Regions from separate parts of the Homo sapiens genome. Here region 1 is linked to region 2. Evidence: promoter capture Hi-C in human tissues and cell types (Jung and others, 2019). All regions are on one chromosome and are shown on one strand. Each heading gives the region's core, a stretch centred on a gene start or on the middle of the fragment in contact. The rest is flanking DNA. Distances are from core to core; before and after follow the strand shown.

What was found. The method cuts DNA at HindIII sites, captures the fragments that hold promoters and counts their contacts. A contact is called where the count stands out against the background at its distance.
Region 1: a fragment that was not itself captured here is called in contact with the fragment with the promoter of ZP4 in region 2 in 1 of the 25 tissues and cell types used here (hippocampus).

What each region holds. Positions count from the first base shown.
Region 1 is chr1:238,421,654-238,428,468 of GRCh38, reverse strand. It overlaps LOC105373220 (a long non-coding RNA gene), which reads right to left. Exons shown (of 5, transcript XR_949308.3): 4 at 2,958-3,031. Among named protein-coding and RNA genes, the nearest start is that of LINC01139, 61 kb to the left of the region's middle. The HindIII fragment of the contact is 4,403 bases long and covers 1-3,912 here.
Region 2 is chr1:237,886,828-237,893,726 of GRCh38, reverse strand. ZP4 (zona pellucida glycoprotein 4) reads left to right here and starts at 2,805. Exons shown (of 12, transcript NM_021186.5): 1 at 2,805-3,266; 2 at 3,551-3,672; 3 at 3,758-3,860; 4 at 5,217-5,369; 5 at 6,166-6,353; 6 at 6,859-6,899. The coding sequence starts at 3,092. It also overlaps the pseudogene LOC100130331. The HindIII fragment of the contact is 12,268 bases long and covers 1-6,899 here.

The DNA of each region.
Region 1 (6,815 bases), core at 462-2,961, 540 kb before region 2:
AAATTAATAAAATATTTAGGAATATACCTAACCAACAAGGCTAAAGACCTCTACAAGGAAAACTACAAAACACTGCTGAAAGAAATCATAGATGACACAAACAAATGGAAACACATCCCATGCTCATAGATGGGTGGAATCAATATTGTGAAAATGACCATACTGCCAAAAGCAGTATATAAGTTCAGTGCAATCCCCATCAAAATACAGCCATCATTTTTCACAGAATTAGAAAAAAAAATTGTTAAATTCATATGAAACCAAAAAAAAAAACCCCAAATAGCCAAGGCAATACTAAGCAAAAAGAAATCTGGAGGCATCACACTACCTGATTTCAAACTATACTATAAGGCCTTTGTCACCAAAACAGCATGGTATTGGTATAAAAATAGGCATATAGACCAATGGAGCAGAATAGAGAACATAGAAATAAAGCCAAATACTTACAGCCAAGTGATCTTTGACAAAGCAAACAAAAACATGAAGTGGGGAAAGGACACCCTATTCAACAAATGGTGCTGGGATAATTGGCAAGACACTGTAGGAGAATGAAACTGGATCCCCATCTCTAACCTTATACAAAAATCAACTCAAGATGGATTAAGGACTTAAACCTAAGACCTAAAACTGTAAAAGTTCTAGAAGATAACATTGGAAAAACCCTTCTAGACATTGGCTTAGGCAAGGACTTCATGACCAAGAACCCAAAAGCAAATGCAATAAAAACAAAGATAAATAGTTGGGACTTAATTAAACTAAAGAGCTTTTGCACAGCAAAAAGAACAGTCAGCAGAGGAAACAGATCTACAGAGTGGGAGAAAATCTTCACAATCTGTACGTCTGACAAATGACTAATATCCAGAATCTACAATGAACTTAAACAAATCAGTAAGAAAAAAACAAACAATCCCATCAAAAAGTGGGCTAAGGACATGAATAGACAATTCTCAAAAGAAGATATACAAATGGCCAACAAACATATGGAAAAATAATCAACATCACTAATGATTAGGGAGATGCAAATCAAAACCACAATGTGATACCATCTCACTCCTGCAAGAACGGCCAAAATCAAAAAATCAAAAAACAGTAGATGTTGGCATGGATGTGGTGAACAGGGAACACTTCTACACTGCTGGTGGGAATGTAAACTAGTACAACCACTAAGGAAAACAGTGTGGAGATTCCTTAAAGTGCTAAAAGTAGAACTACCATTTGATCCAGCCATCCCACTACTGGGTATCTACCCAGAGAAAAAGAAGTCATTATATAAAAAAGATACTTGCAGAAGCATGTTTATAGCAGCACAATTCACAATTGCAAAATTGTGGAACCAACCCAAATGCCCATTAATCGACGAGTGGATAAAGAAACTGTGTTATATTTATATATTGGAATACTAATCAGCCATAAAAAGGAATGAATTAACAGCATTTGCATCGACCCGGATAAGATTGGATACTATTATTCTAAGTGAAGTAACTCAGGAATGGAAAACCAAACATTGTTTGTTCTCACTGATGTGTGGGTGTTGAGCTATGAGGACGCAAAGGCATAAGAATGATACAATGGACTTTGGGGACTTGGGGAGAAGGGTGGGGGGGGCGATGGATAAAAGACTAAATAATATGGTGCAGTGTATACTGCTTGGGTGATGGGTGCACCAAAATCTCACAAATCACCACTAAAGAACTTACTCATGTAACCAAATACCACCTGTACCCCAAAACATGCAAAAATAAAGAAAATAAATAAATATCAAAAAAAAGTGCATTCATAAAACAAAAAAAGCCAGAGGTATAAAAAAATGCTCATTATCATTGACCATCAGGGAAAAGCAAGTTAAAACCACATCTGTTAGAATGGGCATTAATTAAAAAATGAAATGTAACAAGGGTTGGCAATGGTATGGAGAAAAGGGAACCCTTGTATACTGTCGGTGGGAATGTAAATGAACAAAGCCATAGGATGAAGGCTCCTCAGCCAACTACAAATAGAATTACTGCACAATCCAGTAATCCTGCTACTGGGTGTTTATCCAAAGGAATATACATCAAATCAGTATGCCAAAGAGATAACTGAACTCCTGTGGTCATTGCAATGTTATTCACAATAGCTAAGATATGGATGCAACCTAGGTGTCTATCATCAAATGAATGGATAAAGAAAATGTAGCATATATACACAATGGAATACTAGTTAGCATTGGAAAGGGGGAAAACCCTGTCTTTTGGGATAACATAGATGAACCCGGAGGTGAAATAGGCCAGGCACAGAAAGACAAATACTGCATGATCTTTCTCATATGTGAAATCTAAAAAAGTTGAACTCACACAAATAGGGAGTATAATGATGGTTACCAGAGGCTGGGGGAGAAGAATCAATGAGGAAGGGGAAGATGTTTATTAAAGGGTACAAAGTTTCAGTTAGTGAGGAGGAATAAGCTTTGGTGATCTATTTTACAGAATGGTGATTACTATAAATAATAATATGCTGCATATTTCAAAATTGCTGAAAGAGTAGACTTTAAATGTTTTCACTATAAAAAAGTAATGTTTGTGAAGTGATTAATTTGTTAATTAGCCAGATTTAATCTTTCCACATTGTAAACCCATATCTAATCATCACATTATACCCCATAAATATAGCTCATTATTATTTATCATTAAAAATAAAGTTTAAAAAATTAAATAAACCACAAAAGAACAAAAAGAGAAGAACTATGAAGTAGGAATTGATGTCTAGCAGAGGCAGGCTCATAGTCATTCAAACTAGAGCTTAATTCACCTGGAAAAAATACATAAATACCTTCTGCGGAATGCTTTCTCAAGAAAAGGCATTTACTTGTAATATTTTAAAACCAAAATGCTGAAAAGGTTCATGATTCTCACTCAGAAGTTCACTCAATATCCCCTTAAACCAGGACTCCAGAGTCCTTGATAATTACAATTACTCACCATCTGAAAACACTGGCATTGAATAGTCCTAAACCAAGTTTATTCTTCCTCATTTGAGTCACAAGGAAAACAACCTAAAAAGATGGAAACTATGAAGATATCACAAATTTTTTACAATGGTAAATGAAAATCTTCTTCATATCAAAAAGTTTATGTTACATTTGTTATATACTACATATTATGAGAAAACACTATTGTCCTCACCTAATTTTGATTTCCACTTTTGGTTTCTGCATTAAAATATAAAAGCTGCTCCCCAGAGAAGTTTTCTGAAGACTATTGATGACTTATATCAAGACAATTAATTGACTAATGCTTTAGTGACTCACTAGCATTAGGAAAGAGGTAGCTAGTTTGTATTTCCTCTTGGTCCTGTGAGCCCCTCATATTCACTGTTTTTACTCTCTTCTTTCCTTCCATTATTTGTCGGATATACAGATCATGCATGGGACTCAAAATACAGATGCATCTTTACACTTCTTTCTATAAAACTAGGGCAATTTCATGCCTCAAATTTGAATGAAAATTCAAAATATAATTTCAAGATTTTTTTCACATGTAAGTTATATTACAGTTAGCAGCAATATGGAGTTGGCACAATGATAATAAGTGTGTCAATGAAAGAGATGAATTCAATGATAGGCTCTCATATTTATGATCAATTGATTTTGACAAAAATGTCAAGGTAGTTCCAGGGGCAAACTATAGCTTTTTCAATAAATAGCATTGGAACACCTTGATAACCATATAGGACAAAATAAGTATTGACCCTTATCTCCTATCATGCACAAAAAATAACTAGACATTGATCACAGACCAAACACTGAAGGTTAAAAATATGAAGCCTTGGCCAGGCATGGTGGCTTACGCCTGTAATCCCAGCACTTTGGGAGGCCAAGGCGGGCAGATCATGAGGTCAGGAGATCGAGACCATCCTGGCCAACATGGTGAAACCCTGTCTCTACTAAAAATACAAAAATTAGCTGGGTGTAGTAGTGCGCACCTGTAATCCCAGCTACTCGGGAGGTTGAGGCAGGAGAAACGCTCGAACCCATGAGGTGGAGATTGCAGTTAGAAGAGAGCACAGCAGAAATTTTATGAACACAGGTAAGCAAAATTTTCTTAGAATATAAAAAGCACTAACCATAAAAGACTTTATCAAAATTTAAAATTTCAGCTCTTCAAGACACACAATATATGGTAAATATATTCTTCCATTCCATGAATTGCCTTTTCATATATATATATGTGTGTGTGTGTGTGTGTGTATGTATATATGTACATACATATTGTAGTCAGGATTTATCATTAACTTCTAAAAATAAATAAGAAGACACAACTCAATATAATCAACAATCAAATACTTGAACAGACACTGCACAAGAGAAATTCTGAAAAGACTTCATTACTCATAGTGTAAAACCACAATGAGATATCGTGAAACATACACATATCCAGTAATTCCAATCTTAGCATTTACCCATGAAAAATGAAAACATATGCCCACAAAGAGAAACTTTATTTAAATGATCATGAACTAGAAATAACTCAAATGTCCATCAATATTTTAATGAATAAACTAACTTTGGTGTAGGTTACTTAGCAATAAAACAATGACCTATTGATGCACCCAACAACGTGGATGATGACTGGAAACATTAGAGCAAAAGAATCCAATACAAAAGAGAACATGCTTATAAAATCTATATGTATGAAGTTCTGGGATACACACAGCTAAGCTATGGAGAAAAAAACTAGAACAGTAATGACCTCTATGTATGGAGTAGAGAAACTGACTAGAAGGTGGGCATGAGAGAATCTTCTGGAATGAACAAAATGGTTTATATCTTTATTGTCAGATGGTTACAAGAGTGTACGTACAATCATTGCATGGTACTCTTAAAGTCTCTGTACTGTTGCATGAGAATTTCACATCAATTTAAGAAAAATGCAAAAATTTTGCAAAAGGTTTTATTGATTTTAGAGGTTTTGCTTTTTTTCTCTTTCAAATGAAGTGTTTATATGCACCATCCATATTTATATCTGAAAGCCAAAAATTCCTTCCTATAGTTTTTTTGTCATTACATTTTTGTTGAAAGCAATAAAAATATACTATTGTTGCATGAGATTTGACAGTACAGATGTATATTTATAGTGAAGAAAGCAAGAATACCATTGCACTTCCAAAGAGAATGGGTTACTATGGGGGACTTGTTGCTGCTCTGGCAAGGCCATTTATGGCTGCAGTGTTTGGTGCTGTCTCCAGAAACCATGGTACGTCCTTCAGAATTTTTCATCCAGAAATGGAATTGTGTCAGTGTTCTAAGAGGAGCTCATGCCCTTAGGAAGTGGCACTTGCTAATGAAACCCACTAGAGATGGTGTAAAAATCCATGTTTTATTTTGTATTATATCTGGAAAAGCTTCATACGAATACAGTTACTTATGATCATGGTGTCCAAAACAAAGGGAATTGGGTGACAGCAAAGGATGTTTTATTCAGAGATGGCTAATAAAAATAGAGATTTTAATCCTGGGAAATACAATTTAAATAAAATTATCTAGGCATGGTGGTGCATGCCTGTAGTTCCAGCTACTCTGGGGCTGAGGTGGGAGGCTCACTTGAGACCAGGAGGTCGAGGCTGCAGTGCGTCATAATCGTACCACTGCACTCCAACCTGGGTGGCAGAGCAAGACCCTGTTTCAAAAATTGCAACCCAAAAATAGAGATTATGTTCATGCCTTCTCGTTACCATACCTATCTTTTGAGCCACATATGTTTACTATGACAAAAATTTTTACACTTTTAATATTATGTACCACAAAGATTATTTTAAAAGTTTTGTCAGATTATAATTTGTTGATTTAAGCTTGATTTCATGCTAAAAAAAACAAAAGCATTAAAAAACTGCTATTTGTATGCAGTTGTATCCTGTCCACTTCACGGAACACCCCAAGCAAGAACACTGTTTGGAAAACCTGGAACACCAGAGAGTGAGAAAGGCAGAGGGAGGTGTCTATCTGTTGGTGCTTCAGAAAGGTCAATGGAAGATAAATGTCAACATTTAATTATTCATTATTTTATAAAATAGAAAATGCTCAGATTTTTATTTTAAATAGGAAAGGGAAATTTGAAGCCTTCAGATCTCTAGTGCCTGAGGGGAGCAATTAAACTTGCCTGTGCTTTGTGAGTAAGTGTGTTGCTTGAAGCAAAGCTCCCGGCATGACTGCTCTGGGAGTGTACAGGAGCGAAGAGTGTTCTCTTCTTTTACAACTTTTTTGGATTTTTTTTCTTAATATCATCTCTTGAAGGTCACAGAGACCAATATTTGATATATTTAATAGATGCATGTATGTACTTTCCAGACTGCCTGTCACTGTATTCACATGTTAAACATTGAGGTTCTCTCATGAGAAATAGACCTTCCCCTCTTACCCAGCACAGGCAACAGAAGGACTCAGAATTACTCTAGCAGAGCTATGGATTGCCTTTTAGATAAAGTCCTCATTACTGAGTTTTCTGCTATGTGTATCCATGATTTAAAGCCAACACAAAAACCCATTTTCTTATTTGGGCAATTTACCATCCAAGTTTCTCTTGTCCCCTTATATATTTGCACCAGATATACTTTACTGTAGGAAGATAATTAAAAGTAACATAATCTGAAATTCATATAAATTGAGATGTTGTCACACATTTTATCATATTGATTTTTCACTATAATATTACTGCCAAAATATCAATCATATACCTGAGAGTGACACATCAGTATTTCTTAACTTACTGATTGTAGGATTGATTGATTTAACAAATGGACTTTCCCAGTATATTTTACTGAAATATAAGTTACATCCAGTA
Region 2 (6,899 bases), core at 1,556-4,055:
TGGGTGATTCTGACATAAGACAAAGAACAGCATTTGCCCTTTCACATTCAAAGGACAGAGCATTCATGTTGTGATAATAGTGGATAGGATGTTTTTTCTGTTAAGCCTGGGGCTCCTCGAGGTGGATCACACATTATCAGTGCATTTTCTCATCCCGAAATTAAATGATGATGTTCTTGGAAGATTCAGCAGAGGAATGAGCATAACATTACCTAACCCCAGACCTGCCTGCATTATCTTGGCATCCATCTTTGACCCTCTGCAGCATCAGAGAGATGGGTGTGATCCTAGGTGGACTTCAAGATAGCTCCACATAGTTCCAGGCTTGTGTGATTTTTCAACTTCATTATGTAAACACAGGACCTCATTTGGGAATGCAGCCTCATGAGTATAGGCTGTTCCTCAGACTCCCTGCAGATCCAATGAGTGCACTGCTTGGCATTTGCTTTCCATTTGCCACCCATCTCACCTTTATCTCCCAGGCTGGTCCTGTTGATGTTAGTGACAATGTAGCAATTATGCAACAAGCATTGTACATACATTATTTCATCTAACCGTCTGTTGTAATAATACTGTCCATGTTATTATCCCTATTTTACAGATATAAAAACTGTAACTGAGAGAAAGAGGTTAATACATTGACAGAGGTTGCAGAGTAACAGTCAGAATTTGTACCCAAGTCCACCCATTGTCAAAACTCACATGATATACTATACTATATTGCCTCCAAGTATGAGCAAAGGAAGTTACGCTCCTTGACTTTTCACCACTTTATAAAGCTGTTGGGAACAGGCCCCCCAAAATCTGGCCATAAGCTGGCCCCAAAACTGGCCATAAACAAAATCTCTGCAGCACTGTGACATGTTCGTGATGGTCGTGATGGCCATGATGCCCACGCTGCAAGGTTATGGGTCTACCGGAATAAGGGCAAGGAACCCCAGACCCACCCAGGATGGAAAACCGCTTAAAAGTGTTCTTAAACCACAAATAGCATGAGTGATCTGTGCCTTAAGGACATGCTCCTGCTGCAGATAACTAGCCAGAGCTCATCCCTTTATTTCAGCCCATCCCTTTGTTTCCCATAAGGAAGACTTTTAGTTAATCTATAATCTATAGAAACAATGCTTATCACTGGCTTGCTGTCAGTAAATATGTGGGTAAATCTCTGTTCGAGGCTCTCAGCTCTGAAGGCTGTGAGACCCCTGATTTCCCACTCTACACCTCTATATTTGTGTGTGTGTGTGTGTCTTTATTCCTCTAGCATCCCTGGGTTAGGGTCTCCCCGACTGAGCTGGTCTCAGCATAAAGCAATATTAGTAAGTCTAGTCAGGAGACTGGCCTTTTAACTCCTGAGACATCTTGCATGAGTCAAATCCTCAGATTCTTTCTTACATGTGCAATCACATGATATTTACTTGAAGGAAAAATACCTAAGGGTTATGAGTTTGAGCTCATCATAAAGGAAATGAATTTGTACCGGTGAGGTTTGGAAACTACATTTTCAAGGGGGTTAGCCCTAGGACATGGCCACTAATGAAAGCATATTCATTGATTCAGTCTTTACTCAGAGAACACTGAGTACATACATCCAAGGCACGCAGGATGCAGTGACAAATAAAAAAGTCCCTGGCCTCACGTGCTTCTAGTGGCAAACTGAATAAGAAAGAGGTCATTACAATCCAACCTGGCAAATCCTGTGAGTAAATGGCATGTAATAACCCAGTGGTGAGCACCTAATCCAGGTAGACGGTGTCAGGGAAGCCACATCTGTCTTTGAGGGCAGAGTCCAGCTTTCCTTCAATGTCATTTTTCATCATGTGGTTAAAAGGGCCACCAATTTTCCCAGGAAGACACATACTTATTTGTCCTCTGTGATGAGTTGAAGAGAACTAGAGATACCTAGTTACACATTCTCAGTGCTTTGACTACAATTTTTAGTCAACCGAAAAATATCAGTCTAAATACAATCAGGGTACAATTTGGGAATATTGGTGGCAGACTGCAGAAGACAAGTTTCCATGCTCTTGCCTCTCCAGTGGGGAATGTATCCATTTATCCCCAAATCTCTTAGAATTTCTCTACAATCTGGTCTGACACTCTAGCTTAAAGAGTGACCAAAGTATATAACTTGTAGTTTATGTGGAAAACAAAAATGTAGAAAGCAAGCAAGAAACCCTGACATCTTTATGAAATATGCCTGAAACACAGCCGAAAGATAAAATTGTCAAATAGCTGTAAGAGGCAGAACCAGTTTGAGGAATTCATGGCCTAATCCACATTTCCCCCAGATCCTGTGGGGAAACACTGTAGGACAGTTATGGCAATGAACCACTTTGGAATTTGTTGAAAGATTGCTGTGGTAGGATTCCCTCTAAGGACCAGGAAAGGGTTCAAAATCAACCTTTCTCAGGAAATAAGTTTAGATTTTTTTCTAGAATTTCAAGACAGGCTCTAATCGTACAGAAACTTTTCTAGAATGGATGGAGAAGGTGACAAGGCTTCTCAAGGGCCCCAACTCTCACCCGACAATGTTGACTGAGCACTCACTGCTTGGCCAAGCACTGTGCCAGGCACCTGACATAGAATCTCTTGCTTAATCCTCAAGCACACCACTGCCAGGAGATAGCATTCCCATTTTACAGATGAGAAAACCAAGATTCAGAGAGTTTGTAACGTACCCAGACCCCATAGTTCATAGATGGTAGTTTCACACCCAAATGTGCAAAATTCTAGAGGGAGGTCTTCTGAAGTCAATAAGTTCAATAAACTGGTGGGACAAATGCTATGTTGAGCAACCCTGAGGAAGCTTTCTTTCCTTCCTTTCTGTTAGCTAAAAGTTACTACATTTTTCTTGGGCTCTGAAGTCTGCCTGGATTGTGGTATTTAATGTGAGGCAGCTGCAGACTGTGCCCCAAAGCAAATGAGGCTAGAGGAATTCCCCTTTCTGAAGGCATCCCACCTGAGTGTCACAAAGATGTGCAGCTGAAAACAAGCCTGACTTCTGTATATAAAGGAATCTGGGCAGGCAGACCCTCGGCTCTTGGGAGAGGAGGCGGAGAGTCTGCAGCCGGCAGGAACTCCTGGTAGCATTATGTGGCTGCTGCGGTGCGTTTTGCTGTGTGTTTCATTATCTCTTGCTGTGAGTGGCCAGCATAAGCCTGAGGCACCAGATTATTCCAGTGTGCTCCACTGTGGGCCGTGGAGCTTCCAGTTTGCTGTAAACCTCAACCAGGAGGCAACGTCTCCTCCTGTACTAATAGCTTGGGGTAAGTTTGATGACTTGCCTTGCTTAGCCAAGCAATGATATGTCTCCTCTACTACCTAAGATGTCTCCCTATCTTCCCGTATTGATACTTTCACCTTCTGAGCCCTGTTGCATCTTTCTGCAAAAGAAATAGTCTAAGTTATAACTACATCTGATCTGAATCTGATTTCCCTCTTGTTCCTCTTATTGACAGTTGCTCCTTGGGGTCTAATGGCAAGGCTGACTATCCTTTCTGGCACTGGAGACTGACCGCTGTGTTTTCTCACCTCTTCCCCACCCCTCCAGACAACCAAGGGCTGCTGCACGAGCTGCAGAATGACTCCGACTGTGGCACCTGGATAAGAAAAGGTCCAGGCAGCTCCGTGGTGTTGGAGGCAACCTATAGCAGCTGCTATGTCACTGAGTGGGTGAGTATGACCCAATGGCCAGGGAGACTGTGTGAAGCGCCTCATGCTACCATCCAGGCTGACCCCCAAGGGCCTGTCTCTCCAGGACTCCCACTACATCATGCCAGTTGGAGTTGAAGGAGCAGGCGCGGCTGAACACAAGGTGGTTACAGAGAGGAAGCTGCTCAAGTGTCCTATGGATCTTCTAGGTAAAGGCTGGAAGCTCTCAGGGTCTTGTGGGGGTGGTGGGGGTGGGGTGTGAAAGTACTCTTGGTCCTCTCTGACCTGCTCTGTGCAGTGACACCTGACACTAATGAAGGAAGGATCATGTCCCAACTCTCACCTCCATGGGCAATCCTTAGGATAACTACCAATTGAGACTCCTCAATGCCAAGGCACTGTGGGTAAGCACTTCAGGTGTTACCTTCCCTAACCCTAACATAGTGCTGCAAATACTACTGCTGGCCAGGCACAGTGGCTCACACCTGTAATCACAGCACTTTGGGAGGCTGAGGCAGGTGGATCAGGTCGGGAGTTGGAGTCCAGCCTGACCAACATGGAGAAACCCCATCTCTACTAAAAACACACAATCAGCCGGGTGTGGTGGTACATGCCTGTAATCCCAGCTACTCGGGAGGCTGAGGCAGGAGAATCGCTTGAACCTGGGAGGCTGAGGTTGTGGTGAGCTGAGATCGTGCCCTTGCACTACAGCCTGGGCAACAAGAGCGAAACCCTGTCTCAAAAAAAAAAAAAAAAAAAATACAACCTATCTCTTGCCAGGAAGTTTTCCCAAGGGCCTATCACTGGTGAATGACTGAGCTGGGATTCAAAGAACTCTCCCAGAACCAGGAGCTTTTCACCCATGGGGAGAATGATAGGAAATAAAACTGAAGCTAGCAAGGGAACTTGGAAAAATACCTCCACAGAGCTAGATGTGCACTGAGACTAGGACCCAGGTCTTCCATCCCACAAGCTGGAGGGGTATCTGAGCATTTCCCTAAGGAAACAGCAGGAAGTATGATGCCTACTCAACTTTAGAAAGTCTCGCCTGACTGAGAGCCCGTCCTCAAAGTCAGAACAGACTCAAACTATAAATTCACTCTTCTCACCTGCCTTCCTTCCCAATACATAGCCAGGATGGGCAGCACTAATAAAATGAGGAATCATAGGCCCCACCCCAGTTCTGAACCAGACCTGAACTCAAAAACAATCTTCAGATAACTCATATCCAAACTAAGGCTTGAGAAACGCCTCTAAAGAACAGAAGGAAGGATTGTTACTGGAAGGAGTAAGAAACCCCCCAACTGCTTCTACCAATTTTGTTGACATTCTTGTTTTTAAAAAACTAATAGCAGGGCACTCTTACAAGGTGACTTAATGTTGACAACCTCCCAAGACTTAATCTACAACATGTAACCTCTCAATACTATCTACAATATGGAGTAGACACCTATTTCAATCATCTACATATCTACAGGAATCCAAAGTCAATGACTTGTATCAAAATGGTATTCAAGACTAACTTTTCCATTATCTAACCTGACTTACTCTTTTTCAAAACCTAGCCCGAGATGCTCCAGATACTGACTGGTGTGACTCCATCCCAGCACGGGACAGACTGCCATGTGCACCTTCACCCATCTCTCGAGGAGACTGTGAAGGGCTAGGCTGTTGTTATAGCTCTGAAGAGGTGAATTCCTGCTACTATGGAAACACTGGTGAGTAAGTGAGCACACCTCTGAAACCAGCTGAGGAAGTGTGGCAATTACAATGAAACCCAGAGAGGGGTTTGCTCAGAAGGCAAACATCAAGTGATAGCAGGCTGCCATGTAGCCATGCATCCAAGAACACTTGATCCCAATGTAACAGACTTCTACAACTCCCACTGTCCATTCTCCCAGAATCCAGATATAAAGTCAATAACGCTCAGACTTGAAGGCTATGTGCCAGATAATTGCTAGTGCCAGATAACTTCTAACTGACAGAAACTTATAGCGACTTTGGCTGATGGTCTTGGATTGTTTAGGGAGAGTCACTTCAAGGCTGTTGCTTTCTGCTTGTCTCTAATCCTGCTCTGAGGTTTTCTAACATAAACTTGACCTCAGAGTATGTATAGGTTGGTACAGGAGGAATCCCGGCTTTTGCCATTGTGGCAAAGGCTGCAATTACTTCTCTACCAACCTAATAATCGCACACGCTATTCCAAGATCTTAATCTTAACTGACAAGCAAAATGAGGTAGGAACTACTATCCCCCTCTTAACACATGAAACTGAAGCAAGGAGGTGCAATACTTGCCTGAGGTCACACAATAAGTCAGGGAGGCAAGACTCAACCCCAGATCATTTAGAGCCTGGGTTAAACTGTGGTTGGTTGATCTTGCACTGAGGTTGTCACTGGGAAGTTGTCACCAGCTTCTCAGTGGGATTAAAAGTAACTAAGTGGTTAGACTTTCATCTGGTTCTCCCCACAATGGGAGAGATGACCTGCCTTCAGCACAGCTGCTCTGTTTCAGTGACCTTGCATTGTACCCGAGAGGGCCATTTCTCTATTGCTGTGTCTCGGAACGTGACCTCGCCACCACTGCTCTTGGATTCTGTGCGCTTGGCCCTTAGGAATGACAGTGCGTGTAACCCTGTGATGGCAACACAAGCTTTTGTTCTGTTCCAGTTTCCATTTACTTCCTGTGGCACCACAAGACAGGTGAGCAGTTGGGCTTTGTTCCTGGCTCTGGAAGTTGGGTGGGAAGGTTGTAGTGACTAGTGGGGGAGAGCTGAAATATGTTGGCCGTGAACGATACTTGTGACTACTACTTGGAGTTTGGGAGAGTCCCTAGGGCAGGAGAATGCCTCATCACTGAAAAAGTTAATCTCTTCTGGGTGTTCAGCTAAGACCATCACAGCTGTGATCTAGCTAAGGGGCTGTCATTTACCGTGCTATAGAGAAGAAACCAGCAGGGATGCTGACTGGAATTGGTAGTGCTTCAGCTGCCTCTCCTAGGTGCTCAAATTCCTTCTTATTCCTTTGTCCTGAGATAAGGCGAAGTGATAACTTGCCAGGATGTCACTGCTATGTGTTCTTACCTCTGCTGAAGTAATAGGAAATATACCATACAACAGGGTAGCATTGCTGAGGGCTTAGACCAGATGCAAGTCAAGCAGCATAACACTAACAGAAATGATCAAGACTTCTCCATCTATTCCTGTAGATCACTGGAGACCGAGCAGTATATGAAAATGAACTGGTGGC